Linked DNA regions of Homo sapiens: regions 1, 3, 4 and 5 are each linked to region 2. Evidence: promoter capture Hi-C in 16 types of primary human blood cells and fetal thymus (Javierre and others, 2016). All regions are on one chromosome and are shown on one strand. Each heading gives the region's core, a stretch centred on a gene start or on the middle of the fragment in contact. The rest is flanking DNA. Distances are from core to core; before and after follow the strand shown. Region 1 overlaps AMPH (amphiphysin). Region 2 holds the start of AMPH (amphiphysin). Region 3 overlaps TRG-AS1 (T cell receptor gamma locus antisense RNA 1). Region 4 overlaps AMPH (amphiphysin). Region 5 overlaps AMPH (amphiphysin).

What was found. Contacts are between HindIII fragments. The CHiCAGO score rates a contact against its expected background, and 5 or more counts as called.
Region 1: a contact is called between a fragment that was not itself captured here and the fragment with the promoter of AMPH in region 2, in 2 of 17 cell types (endothelial precursors and M2 macrophages). The highest score is 6.2, in endothelial precursors.
Region 3: a contact is called between a fragment that was not itself captured here and the fragment with the promoter of AMPH in region 2, in 3 of 17 cell types (total B cells, naive B cells and M1 macrophages). The highest score is 5.3, in total B cells.
Region 4: a fragment that was not itself captured here is called in contact with the fragment with the promoter of AMPH in region 2 in 8 of 17 cell types (megakaryocytes, M2 macrophages, M0 macrophages and 5 more); the score reaches 7.2 in megakaryocytes.
Region 5: a contact is called between a fragment that was not itself captured here and the fragment with the promoter of AMPH in region 2, in 6 of 17 cell types (M2 macrophages, total CD8 T cells, total B cells and 3 more). The highest score is 5.8, in M2 macrophages.

Annotation. Positions count from the first base shown.
Region 1 is chr7:38,447,854-38,450,553 of GRCh38, forward strand. The region is part of intron 11 of AMPH (amphiphysin); the gene reads right to left. Among named protein-coding and RNA genes, the nearest start is that of TRG-AS1, 110 kb to the left of the region's middle. The HindIII fragment of the contact is 1,999 bases long and covers 319-2,317 here.
Region 2 is chr7:38,630,109-38,632,808 of GRCh38, forward strand. It overlaps AMPH (amphiphysin), which reads right to left and starts at 1,265. Exons shown (of 21, transcript NM_001635.4): 1 at 1,175-1,265. The coding sequence starts at 1,243. The HindIII fragment of the contact is 9,553 bases long and covers 1-2,700 here.
Region 3 is chr7:38,378,254-38,380,964 of GRCh38, forward strand. It overlaps TRG-AS1 (T cell receptor gamma locus antisense RNA 1), which reads left to right. Exons shown (of 4, transcript NR_040085.2): 4 at 1-387. Among named protein-coding and RNA genes, the nearest start is that of TRG-AS1, 38 kb to the left of the region's middle. The HindIII fragment of the contact is 2,106 bases long and covers 198-2,303 here.
Region 4 is chr7:38,430,850-38,433,596 of GRCh38, forward strand. AMPH (amphiphysin) reads right to left here. Exons shown (of 21, transcript NM_001635.4): 13 at 1,340-1,363. Among named protein-coding and RNA genes, the nearest start is that of TRG-AS1, 91 kb to the left of the region's middle. The HindIII fragment of the contact is 715 bases long and covers 920-1,634 here.
Region 5 is chr7:38,410,758-38,413,457 of GRCh38, forward strand. The region is part of intron 17 of AMPH (amphiphysin); the gene reads right to left. Among named protein-coding and RNA genes, the nearest start is that of TRG-AS1, 71 kb to the left of the region's middle. The HindIII fragment of the contact is 3,412 bases long and covers 1-2,700 here.

The sequences.
Region 1 (2,700 bases), core at 68-2,567, 180 kb before region 2:
ATCTTTTCTTCTTCTAGAGATTTTCATCTTTTATTCTTTCATTAAACATATTTTGAAAACCTTTACTATATCCTAAGTATTGTGCTGGACACTTGTGACTTCCCAATGAGGCAAAAGAGGTAGAGTAGGAAGCTTAAGACAGAGAGGTTAAATAAAATCTTTAGGAACAAGGCCAATCAGAAGTTATCTTTTATGTAATAGAAATACCTTTCATGTAAAAGTCACAATTTACAATTTCTAACAGTGAGTAAAGTTTTAGCATTTCATCAACAATTACAATGAAGCAGTGGCCTAGGAAAGTTTACCTTCGTGGTTAGAAGCTTATAACAAGATTGCTCCAGATGGGTACATTACAGTTAATGTGAGTCATATAGCACATGGACAGGGTTCAAGTGCTTTATATTGCAGTCTTAGAATGGAAAATCGTTCAGTCATTTAAAATGATGTTGCCAAGTATTTGTTCCACAAAGTTTATTGTAGTATACTAGTCCTTCCTTATTTGGAGGAGTTATGTTCCAAGATCCCCAGGGGATGCCTGAAACCACAAATGGTACAGATAGTACTGAACCCTATACACACTATGTTTTTTCCTATACATACATACCTATGATAAAGTTGAAGTTATCAATTAGGCATAGTAAGAGATTGATGACAACAGCTAACAGTAAAATAGAACAATGATAACAATATACTGTAATAAAGGTGAATGTAGTGTGAATGTGAATATAGTCTCTCGCTCGCTTGCTCTCTCCAAATATCTTACTGTTATGTAGTATTTTTGGATCATGGTTGACCATGGGTAACTGAAACCATGGAAAGTGAAACTGTGGATAAGGGGAGACTGCTGAACAGAGAATTAAAAGGATAGTATAATGCAGATCCCTTTACTCACAATCTAGACCTATCGATTGTTCTCTCACATTTGCTTTATGTGCATACCTATATTTACATAATCCTGAAATGCTCTAGGAATGAGTTGACACACAATAAACTAGACCTTCTAGGAAATTGTTTTCCTACTTTGTTTTGTTTTGACTTTGTTTTTTATTAGAACAAGTTGGTAGGCTGCAAAATCATTCCTAGTGTAGCACGTGGGTTTTGTTCATTGCTTTTACATATATTATGACTAATTGTATAAAGGCTGACAGTCATGAGAATAGAGTCAGCAAGGAAGAGGGATAGGGCCTATGCTTATAATGAGGTTCTACTCTGACTAGTGGAAAGACAGATGACTAAACTGGTTGAGTAAAGGCCCTCCTACCACTATATCATGGTATTTACCAATAATGCACTGATATGTAACAACCTGAAGAACTTTGCTAATATCAACACTCAAACGAGTTCTAGAGAACCTGCATCCTGGATACTAAGGATAGAAAGAGTGATATCGATTTGTTCATTTACTGAATGCCCGGTACTGCTCTCTTTCGGGTGCTTACAATGCTGTCACACATAGCCTACAGCATTCTGCTTTCCACTTCTGCACTAGGAGAGGCAAGGTTCAGCAGAAAGACGGCAGGTTTGCTCTTCTAGAAAGTAGGACTAATGACATGTAAATCACAGGATTGATGTCAAGGTTAAACTGAATGAGACCTTGCAGAAAGATATTTAGTAGCTTTCCCTGTTCTGTAGACAGAAAAAGCCTAGGCACTGTTAGCAGCTCTGGAGTCAGAACCTTGAAAGATAGTGAAGCCTAATGACCCAATGATTTTAAAACATTTTCAGAATACCAGATGATACATAAACTGCACTGCTTGGTTACTCCTGCTCAAGGAATGGAACAATGATGTTGGTAATCCACCAGGGCAATGAACTGACTAAATTTGGGCTTGAAATGCACTGTGTGGTTTTTCTTCCTTCTAATTTTCATCTTACTAATTCTTTCTGTCTTAAAATAATGTTAACATGTTTACTTTGAAAAATAGCAAGAGAAAGAAGAGGCAGCTGGTCCAGAAATATGTTATGTTGAAAAGCCAGTGTGGTATTTAGAACCAGGTTACAGATACCCAGTAAGTGAGAGATGCATATGTTCATAACTGCAGGCTGGCCTCTCAGGATTACATGGGTGAAAAAACCATTTCATGGACTGATTCTGCAAGTTGAATTCTATTTCAGTTCAATTGGCTAGGGAAAACAGCATGATTTAATGAACTTAACAAGTAAGATGCAGTATTAGGCTGGAAAACAGAGACATAAGGGTAGAAAAGCCAATGGTGCTCAATTGGTCCCAACACTCAGGATTGAAAGGCTGTGCTCATGTCTGCATGGGAGCATGGTAGGCATTCCTATGGCGTGATAAGCAGGGCTTGGAGAAATAAGCTTGGATGTTCAAGGGATAATTCCTCTGGATTTGTAAAGGGGAAATCTTTGATCAGAGAAAATATGCAATATCATAGTTGGAGAAAGATTTAGGAAAAATAGTTGGGGGTATCTGCTATGAAAAAATCCTGAGACAGGCAATATTTTCTTCCTCTCTGCCACTGGACACAAAGATAGACTCTGGCAAAGAGGGACCCTGCCCCAAGCCCTGAATCTAAGGGGACCGTCATGCTTTTGAGCACCTTTCTTACAGTTTCCTAAGTCTTCCTCTGGCAGAAGGGACCAGCTGCAGCTGCAGTGCCATCTGGTCAGGGCATCCTGAGAGCCTGTACCAGGACTGGGCTTTGGTTGCCATATCTCCCCTTCGGAGCACTCCCCAAC
Region 2 (2,700 bases), core at 15-2,514:
GAGCAACATGGCAAATCTGACTTCCAGTAAAACAGGAAAACGCTAAACACCCCATATCCTAGGGACGGAAAATACTGCCACGTGAAAGAGAACACAGTTCAAGTGATACCAATCATGGGGCTCATTAGCCGGTGTTGATTTTCAAGTACAATGCTCAAGCTACAATATAAAGGAAATGTCCTTTGCTCAGGACACAAATGAAGACCTCAGGGCCGTCATATACAGCAGTCACCAGGGAAGCCAGGCAAGCCTGGTGCCTGGTACAACTCCCCTCCACCTGCTTTGGGCTGTGCTTGCTACGGACCTGGGTTTCATTCATGCACGTCTCTGGGGAAAAAAAATAAATTACTGTGCGCAATTTACTGAGGGACTTGCAAAACAACAGAGAACCCAATTTGTGCAATCTGGATTTTTTAAAATGCAATAAAAGGTCCTTCTTTGTGCAGAAATATGCAGAAAGGAACTATTAGGTTCAGGTCATATTTATTTTTGACCTTCTAAAGAAGGACACTGGAGTCAAAAGGGACACAAACATATAGACCAAAATTAAAAGTGTGTATATCTAGATCTCTGTTTTGAACTCCAGAACTCACCAGACAGCACTGTGTGATCACGATCCTACCCTATTGGTCCTGGGAGATTTTTGGTGGCTTCTCTGTTAAATCGTTCGTGTCTGCTGCACTTAAGTAGCCACAAAATCCCCCGCAAGAAGGAAGGCTGCTGCAATCTCCCGCCCCGATCTGCGGGCCGCGTCCCCGCGAGCTGCCTGCGGGCGCGCTGGGAGCCGGCCCGGGGAGATGCGAGCGCAGGGAGATGCGCTCTGCTCCGGGCGCAGCGGGCAAGCTGCCGCACCTCCTACTTCTGTTGCCTGGCTTGGGGCCAGGAGAGCGGCAACCCGGGGCCGGCTCCGGAGCTGGACATATCCGGCGTCTCCGGGGCCAGGGTCTGCGGGTCCCCGGCGCTGCGTCCTCCCGACCCGCTCCCCGCGGCGCCCGGGTCGCGCCTTGCGGCAGTCACCGAGCTGAGGGCAGGGCGTCCCAGCGTCCCTGGCCCCGGCCCCGCTCCGCAGCGCGCCGCACCCCGAGGCTCGGGCCCCGCACAGCTGCAGCCGGTGCCCTCCGGCCAAGCCCCCGCCTGGCGTCCCCGGCCCCAGCCCCGGCCGCCCGCCGCTGACCTTTTCCTGCGCGCGGTTGAGTCGCTTCTGGACGTTCTTGGCGAAGATGCCCGTCTTGATGTCGGCCATGGCTGCGGGTCCGGGGAGCTGCGAAGAGCAGAGCGCGCAGCGGGGCTGGCGGCGGCGCGGAGGAGCGGGAGGAGGAGCGGGAGGAGGAGGAGAGGGCCGAGCAAGGGAGGAGCGGGAGAAGCGGCGGGGAGCCGCGGAGCGCGGAGGGGTGAGGGCGGGGCGCGGCGGCGGGACCAGCTTAAAGCGACAGAGCGGGGGCGGGATGCGTCGGGACTGGCTGTGACATGGGGAGAAGGGGCGGGGGAAGAAAGAGAAAGAGGCCAAGAAAAAGAGAGGGAAAAGCCAGAAGCCAGATTGTCTCCTCGATGATAGAAGAGTTTCGAGAGGAGAAAGGGAACCAAGCCTAGCAGAAGTCCCTGGGCCCAGGGGCAGCTCGGGGGTTCTTTTAATGCAGTTTGTATTTGGGGAGAGTGAGGGGACCTGATTCTTTCCAGCAAAAAAAGAAATAGGGGAGACAAAAAAGGGAAGAACCCTAGGGATGTGGAAGCCAGCTGGATTGGAACTGCTCTGAAGTGGAGCTGATGGGGCTGGTCCCTTGCTGCTCCCAAAAGTTTCCAGCTAACAGAGGCCCCTCCATACACCCTGGGTGTTGCAGAAGAAGGTATGGAGGTCGCCCTACCCTCAGGAGGCTCACAGCCCAGTGAGGGGCCCTGGCTGGGAAACCAACGAAGTCAGAGCTGCAGGAGAGAGGCGTGTGGAGAGCAAAGCGGGGAGAGACCATCGCTGACACTTGTTTAAACTTTAAAACAAGAGTTAGCAGGGCGGGGAGGTCCGCGTTGAGAAAGGTCAGCTTCCGGAAGACAGGCGATGTGTTTTGGTCATCTCCAAAATTCCTGTGCTGGGCAGAAACCTTAGAATAGACTACTCTTCAAGAAATGGTGCATGGAACAGTCAAGTCCCTTATAGCTTCGCATCAACCATGGAAGACCCAGTCCCCCCTAACTTGTTGCTTCCTTGGAAACCTTTTGGCAACCTTAACAGGGACTCACCATCCCTATTATTCTTATTAATGCTTGGGAGAAGTACGAATAATAGGGATAAACCTGCCCTACACCTAGAGCTCTTGTTGGCTCTGACCAGTGGTCAAACTATTCATATTCCATTCTCACTGAGAGTGTGAGGAGAAGAAGTCAGGTGGTGCCCTGCAAACAGAGGTCAGAAGTGGTCACTCACAGTGAATCCTATGAGTCCAGGTGAGCATCCTACTGTACCTCTGGGGGAAACTGTTACATTGGTAGACCTCAGCGAGCTGCCACCTGGTGTTCACTCTTGTGTCACCCTGTAGTCCCCTCACCTTGATTCTAGAATGATGCTATGGCCAGCTTTAATCAATAAGATGTGGTGAAAGTGACGCCATGGTAATTCCAGTCCCCCCCCCACCCACCCAACCTAGAAACCAGGCAAGTTTTGCCCTCTGGGGATTCCTGTGACACCATATAGGAAATTCAGCTAATTCA
Region 3 (2,711 bases), core at 1-2,500, 250 kb before region 2:
AAACAAAAAAAATGGCACAGGTCTGATTATTAGGAAGCTGAGGTTCTTTTTTATACTTAGTATTCACTGAAGTGTGAATTACCTTTCATGTCCTCTAAACATACCAACAAGGAGGCTGGAGTTAGGACTTATGTTAGAGCCAGCCTGCCTGGGGCACAGCCTGGCCCTGCCATTTATTGACTGTGTGACTTTGAGAAAGCTTCCTCATGTAACTCTATCTTAGCTTCCCTGCCTGTAATAAGTAAAAACAGCAACTACCTCATAGATTTGTAAAGATTACATAAAATAATACATGCAATGCATGGCAAACGACAGTCAACGAATGTTATTATTATATTAACTATTGCCATATTATAAATATAAATAAATATAAATGATATAAACAAACTAATAATAGTAATTATTCATTTATTCTTGACTTGAATGAGATCCTTGTGTACTTTAGACATTTATCCTTTGTGAATTTGGGATGGTACAAATATCTTAGGCAAGTCTATCATCTGTCTACCAACTAACTATCTCAAATATCTTTTCATTAAATATAAATTCTTAATTTTGGAGTCAAACTCTTTTTTTTTTTTTTTTTTTGCCCATATACTTTGGGTGTTTCCGAGTCTCATTTAAGAAAACTTTCCCCTCTCCAATATCACAGAAGTATTTTGCATTTTCTTCTCACACTCAGTTTCAAATTTTATTCCATGTTGATCCTGGGATTAGGGTTTCTGGACTTCCCTGAACTAATCGTTCAATCAGCCTCTTGTTCGTTCACTCAGCACACAAGTATACAAGATCCAGAAGTGAATACAGCATGCAGAGAAGGTTGGAGACAGTGTGCCTCTTGGTAGGGGAAATGAAGGGCTAGGGAGTATCATATTTACTCTAAATGTGGAAAGAATGTAGAAGGATGAGAGGACGGGGGATTTTGAGGATACAGGGCTTGGACTACGCCTGGGGGATGGGATTAGAGGCCAACAGGAGAGGGGAAGGCATCCCAGGAGAGGGGTTTTGCAAAACGGCAAGAAAGGTGTATAGCTGAGGGGGAGAAGGCGGGTGGGGTGCTGAGGAGACGCCTCTGAAGCAGGCAGTGGATGAATACTGGGGAAGAGGTGAAGTTCAGCTCTGAAGACCAAGCAGAGGCTCCTGGATCTGGTATGACATGCAGCAGATATTCATCATTTGTGTATGTGTTTCTGAGAGGGAGAGGCGAGGAGGGAGTGGGGACCTGTTGGGTACTTAAAATGGGTGGGCAGTAGGGTACGAGGAAGACAAGAAGTCAGGTGGCAAGGGAGACAACAAGGATCCAATTTGTCTTCTCTGTCAGTGTGAAGAACAGAACCCCGACTAGATTAAAGTGCAAGGTTGTATGTTTTGCAGGGAAATCATAGCAGGTGCCCCAAATCTGGAAAATGATGCACAAAGGAAGCTCCCAAGTCTTCAGGCCCAAGATTCTGAAGAATGGAGGAGCCCCTCAGTGACGCACCATGGAGGGGTTTGGAAGGAAGTCCCTCAAGCGTGAAGTCTAAATCTTATGAATGCGGTCCCCATGTACAGTAACTGACACTTAGCTGGTGCTTGATATATTTTAATGAACAAATGAACATGTGGACTTGGAAGCAATAATTGGACACTCCAAAGGCAACATTCCTTGGACAACTGGAACACAAATTGAAGGACAGGTCGCTATTGCCCCACCCCACTTCCAGCAACCACAGGAAGGAGGAAAAAAAATTAGGAACAGTAACAGAGAAGGAACAACAAGAGAGGTAAGAAAACAAGGAAAGTTCGTATCTTGGAATCTTGGGGGAGAATTGGAAGTTTGGTGGCATCTCCAAATGCCACAGACAGCACTTTGTGATCACTGGTAGGGTTTTGGAGAGCAGAGCATAATGACACAGAGTTTAATATTTACTGGTGGGAGAGGGTGTAGGGTATCAGCCATGTGGCAAGGTGCGTATGGACAAGGCACTCCTGGGCTGGACTGGTTTTACAGGGCATCAGAGTGCAGCAGGGAGGGAAATAAGCATGCAATTCTGACCCAACCCTCAAGAATCAAACAACCTGAGTGTTTGACCTGAGATCGGGGGGACTGGGAATTAACTGGATTTTAGGAAACAAAGATAAAATTTAGATTTCTTTGGAAAGAGCTTCAGGGTACCTACCTGGCCTTCCTCTCAATTTGCATAGATGTAAGGGTTATGTCTCAAATATCTTTTAAGTGGAAAAAGTCACTATTTGCTGCTGCTTGTTAAGTGATCCTTAAAAGGTATTACCAATGAGTCACAAAATATTTGGATGGAATATTAAGCTTATTCGCGCATGGTTTATTTGGCTTTATGAACAACTTATCAACCCCCTACTGTGTGCCTTGAAGAACGCTGCCCGTGAACATCCAGGCGGTCTCCTCCTGGTGATTCAGGACAGGATCATCATCAAACAGGGATGCACCTGCAGGGCTCAAAGATGAACAAAACCACCTGGATCTCCATTTTCTAAGTCTTCCAAGAGAATATTGGTCATTGTCTTCTCTGTGCTGTTACCAAATGTCCGATTCCATTTACTGAAGTCCTAGGAAAGTCTCACACCAGGAAGACGGTAGCTACAGCACTGTGTAGAAAAGCTGTGCGATCTGCTCATCTCCAAGTTCTGACACGTTTGTAAGGTTTTTAGTTGAGTTCCAAGTAAAAACCAGAAGGCAGCTGTTAGTTGGGCTC
Region 4 (2,747 bases), core at 27-2,526, 200 kb before region 2:
TATGAGCCCTGCAACTGCAGAAGGAAGGGACAGACATCTTTTTGTTTTGAAGGGAGAAAGAAAGTGGCAATGTCAATTCAGAAGTGGCATTGCCCATGAATAGCTAGATCTATCGAACTTTCCTTTTTCTGCCTCACAATAAAAGAAGAAAACATACAACTTAAGTTGAGTTCTTAAGACCACATCACCAGGGCTTTTCTAAAACAAAGACCCTGCTCCAAGGGATATGAGGCTGTAGAGGTGTGTGACCAATCACCTAATTTCACAGCACCAATGAGACCACCACAAAGCTCTGTTTGTGACACTTTCCCAAGTCTAAATTATGGAGTAGTTATCCTTACACATCAGATTAGCTGAAAAAACATCAGTAATAACATCTACCTTTTATTGATACACACCAGACACCATGCTACATACTTTACAATTATCTTATTTAAACCTCACACAACCTTCCGAGGTAGGCATCATTACCCTTATTTTATAAATGAGAAAAAAATGATGCTTAGAGAGTTTTAGAAATTGCTCAGGCTGGCCGCAGTGGCTCACACCTGTAATCCCAGCACTTTGGGAGGCCGAGGCGGGCAGATCACAAGGTCAGCAGATCGAGACCATCCTGGCTAACACGGTGAAACCCCATCTCTACTAAAAATACAAAAATTAGTTGGGCGCGGTGGCGGGTGCCTGTAGTCCCAGCTACTTGGGAGGCTGAGGCAGGAGAAGGGTGTGAACCCGGGAGGCGGAGCTTGCAGTGAGCCGAGACAGTGCCATTGCACTCCAGCACTCAATGAAACAGCGAGACTCCGTCTTAAAAAAAAAAAAAAAAAAAAGTAATTGCTCAAAGTCTCAAGGTTATGAGTAGTAGAGTTTGGACTAAAATCCAGGGCTATCTGGCTCTAAAACTCAAGTTCTTATTAACCCAAGCTTCATTGAATACAATCACTTTTTTTTAAAATGGTACCATGTGCCAAGTAGCCCATCTCTTCCATTTTCTCATTCACACTTTCCTTGTCTTCTATTTAAGTGTGTGTGTCCTTCACTGCAACAGCTCCTTTTGCCACCAACCACCACAGAAAGAAACAAAGGGCCAAACTCTTGACCATTATTCAAATTATTGACCATTATTCACCCAGGAGTCTGGTCCACTGTACTCTTCCTTCACCATCATCTTCCGGTTCTGATAATGCTCAAGACTTTCAGTGGCCTAATGATCATTCTAGGGGACTATATCATCATTAAATGTATGTGTCTTCTTTCTGTTGCAAATGAAATAAAATATAACAAGGTTTCCAAATTTCTGGGGATCAAGATACATGAAAAAACAGAGTTATTAGTGGCTTACCGTCCATAGGTCCCAGGGCAATGTCTGAAAGCAAATAAACAAAAATACTGTTAGTTATACAAATCTAAAACATAAAAAAATGCTGAGGTGACAAAAGTTCTTGAAATCATAAGCATTTTTTAAGCATTTTGTACAGTACTGTTCAATAAAACTTTTTTTGGTGAAGGAAATGATCCATATCTGTGCTTATCCAGTATGGTAGCCACCAGTCACATGTGGCTATTGAGCACTTGAAATGTGCTAGGGTAACAAAACCACATTTTAAATTTTACATAATTGTATTATACTTAATATAAGCTTAAATGGCACTTAGCTTTGGATAGCACAGGTCTAATCAATCTCAACTTTCACTATGTGAGTAGAAAACTATATTTGAAACACAAATGAGGTTATTTTAATACACACACACACACACACACACACACACACACACACCTCATTAAAATGAAGTAAACAAGGTGTCCAAATTTTAGAGCTTGTCACATCTTTGAGGAAATGCAGGCCCTAATCACTGCTAATGCTATTTCCTTCCCATCTCATTCAAGAGGATGTAGGATGACCAGCTTAATGGTAAATGAGCCCCAGAAAAATAGTTCTTCAATATGTTAAATTAGATGATAACACACTGCTCAATGAATTGGTAATCATACAAATTGGCAGAGCACCCCCTAAGACATGAATGAATTACACTTACTACTGGTATTTTAATTATAAAGCTTATGAATCCCGGGGAGTGAGGCCAGATGGTTCAAATGGCTTCCACTATGGGTGAGGGGAGCAGGGAAGACTTCTCTTTCTTATTTCCTTTATGATTGAGAATTGCTGCTAAAGCCACATCCGATTATGCCCATGTCTTTGTGACTAGAATGGATCCACGTTTATGCACTTATTTTGAACTACTAAATGTCAACAGCAAACTAGAGAGCCTGGCATTGCCACCTTAAAAATATGATGGTTTTCGGTTGAGATTGCAGAGGCCTCATTTGGGCTCCGTATTATAGAAAGCAGGCCCTGTGGTTCTGATACCCACCCACCTGGTTGGGTCCCATTCTAACCGTTCTGCATGGCCTGCCTTGCATCTCCATGCAGCCTGCCTGGTCTCTTGCTTAGCATTTTCTCGTAGGATGACTAAGACAGGAGAGAACAGCTCCATGGAAAGCCACAGTTTTTTGTACATGGATCTAATATATGTTTTCTGATTATCTAGATGATTCTCATTTCATTGCTTCATAGCCACTTAAGAATCAAAGATCATGGCCGGGCGCGGTGGCTCACGCCTGTAATCCCAGCACTTTGGGAGGCCGAGGCGGGCGGATCACGAGGTCAGGAGATCGAGACCATCCCGGCTAAAACGGTGAAACCCCGTCTCTACTAAAAATACAAAAAATTAGCCGGGCGTAGTGGCGGG
Region 5 (2,700 bases), core at 89-2,588, 220 kb before region 2:
TCAAGGTCTTTCAAATACATCCCCTTTGAAATTTGCTTTGCCGCCAAAGTGGAGGATTAGGACACACATTATCTCTGAGAAGCTCAAGGTTGAGGCTGCACAGAGTTTCTGTTTCATTTCAACTCCTCAGCCACAAACCAGGAACATCCATCAAGTCTAAGCATTCGTTGTGGGAAGTCTTTGTGTCCACTTGGACCCTAAGTTGTGACCCTAACGGCTTTAGTTAGATGTGATATGAGACGTGTTGATAAATATATTTTTATAAAACCTCCTCTTTTTAAAAGCATCTGGAGTAGTCAGGAGATAGACAGCTATGGCTTAAAATACCAGGATTTGAATCACATGTCACTACTTTCTAGATGTGTGATCTTGGTTAATCAATTAATCTCTTTGTGTCCGTTTTCTTAATCTGTAAAACGAGGGACCTGATGCCTAAATAATCCTATTTCACGGGACTGCTGTGAGAGAATGCATGACAATGCTACTGCTCCCTAGTATCTCTTATCACAGTATGGCCTTCTTTACTATCACCTTACTCTCTTTGATCATACTCCTTCATTTCAGGACACACACAGTAGTCCTCAAAGGCAGTATCTGAACTGCTTGAGCACCGATGCTGGAACACAAGGCAACTTGCTGGGGAAAAGGAAGGGATCTCTAATCTCAAATCAAGCACTTTTTCCTGATCATGTTTAAGGTCCAGCTCATGTCTGTGGAGGGCTAGCAGGAGGGATTCATGCAAGGGCCTTTCTATCGTGCAGGTGAGGGATGGACAGAACAGGAACAGGCAAGAAGTGAATGAGAACTCAGCACACATGGTCTAGGGGGTTGGTTCCATATTATCCATGGACTAAACAAATCCCAACACTGCCACCTGTAGGGGAAGAGGAGTGAGCCAGTAAGTAGAACACATCTGTAAGGCTCTTGTAGGTCTAAATTCTGATTTCTGGGGTGGGACTGGGCTTCATATTGGGGTGGGGCTTTATTATCTCAACAGAGTTGTCTTTTTAACATCTGAATGGGTCTGGTCTTACATAGGCTACCCAATTGTGTTGATGACCAGGAATGGTTTCAATGAGGGATTATGAATTGGGCCCAATACATATTCAGAAGACAGAATAAGAGTTTCTTATCCTGAAGCTAATGATAACTAGTCATATTAAATATATCAAGCTAAAGCTCTAGATTTAGTATGTGACAAAAAGTATACACCAAGGCAGACACAAAACCATCTTATAATCATGTGTTGTATGATTCCATTTATATCAGCTCTCTAGAATAGATAAATCCATAGCACATTGGCAGGTACCAAGGGCCTGGGGAGGGGAAGATGGGAGTCACTGCTTAATGGCTATGGGGCTGTGATTTGAGGTGATGAAAATGTTTTGGAACGAGATAGAGGTGATGACTGTACAACACTGTGAATGTACTAAGTGCCAGTTAATTGTTACTTGAAAATGGTTAATTTTATTTTATGTGAATTTCACCTCAGAAGAAAAGTACATGCCAAAAGTAATACTTAAAAGTCACTGGGCATCTATCACCTAAAAATGGCTCCTCAATAGTGGAAGAACAACCTGAATCTTGAGTTCATGTTCACATAGATTTATAACAACACTCTGAATAAACAATGACATTTATTAAAAAGTCTCACTTGGCCCTGTTTGAGATGGGGCTTTGGAAATCACACTCCAGAAGGCAGGGAAGATGCCGCTACTAGCAGTTGGTAGGTGGTTAATGAATACTTAATATCAGCCACATCTCAAAACAGCAGTGGCCCCATATTTCAGAGATGGCCACCTACAAACCCAGATCAACCTGCTCTGTGAGGTTGGGGGAACTGATCACTGTGTTGTTACTTTCACTTTATTCTTGGCTAATTTTATCTCTTCCCTATGACTTCCTGCAAAGACAGAGAGAAAGATCTAGGTTCAGTTACTTGTATCAGATTTGGATGTATCATGTTTGTAGATCATCTGCCCTTCTTTTTCCTTCTACAACCACATGGAAGGAGGACGCAGCTGAGAGGGCACTGCCAGTTCTCTGAATACTCACATCTCCTGGGCAATGAAGATAGAAAAATTCCCTATTCATTCACTGAGTATGAAGGTGCCTGGAAAAGGGGAAGTCTTCTTAGAAAGGACAAAGAATTTTGATGGGACACAGCTTGTTTGGGAACCACATGGAAATTTGTGTTGATGGAGATCTAACAGGGACTGGGTCCATTGCCATTTCTGACATGAGGCAACACTGGAAGAGGGGGCTGTTATCTTTGCCTCTGCTGCTTTCTCCTCCCCAGAGTACATATTTCACATGCTTCTGCTTATTTGCTTCTCACCAACTTTTCATGACGATGATAACAATAATGATATCACCAAACTGTCATTAACTAATAACCTCTGCACGACAGATGTTGAAACTGACAACATGTTTTATTTCTAAGCCCTCATGGGAAACTTTTAAGGTGATTATTATTAACTCCATTTTATATTTGAGGTAAGTGGGGCTTAGGTGTCACAGAGCTGTGGGGCAGAATGAAAAAACTGACATTGCTTTTGATCATAATAACTGGCTTGCTTTTCCTAAATATAAAAAAAGCCAAAGTATCTGAATGAAAAAAAAAAGAGAAGGAAAATGACCATATACATATTTGTACTTTAAGAAATCAAACTGCAGCCCCTTTAAGGACCCCAAGACTGC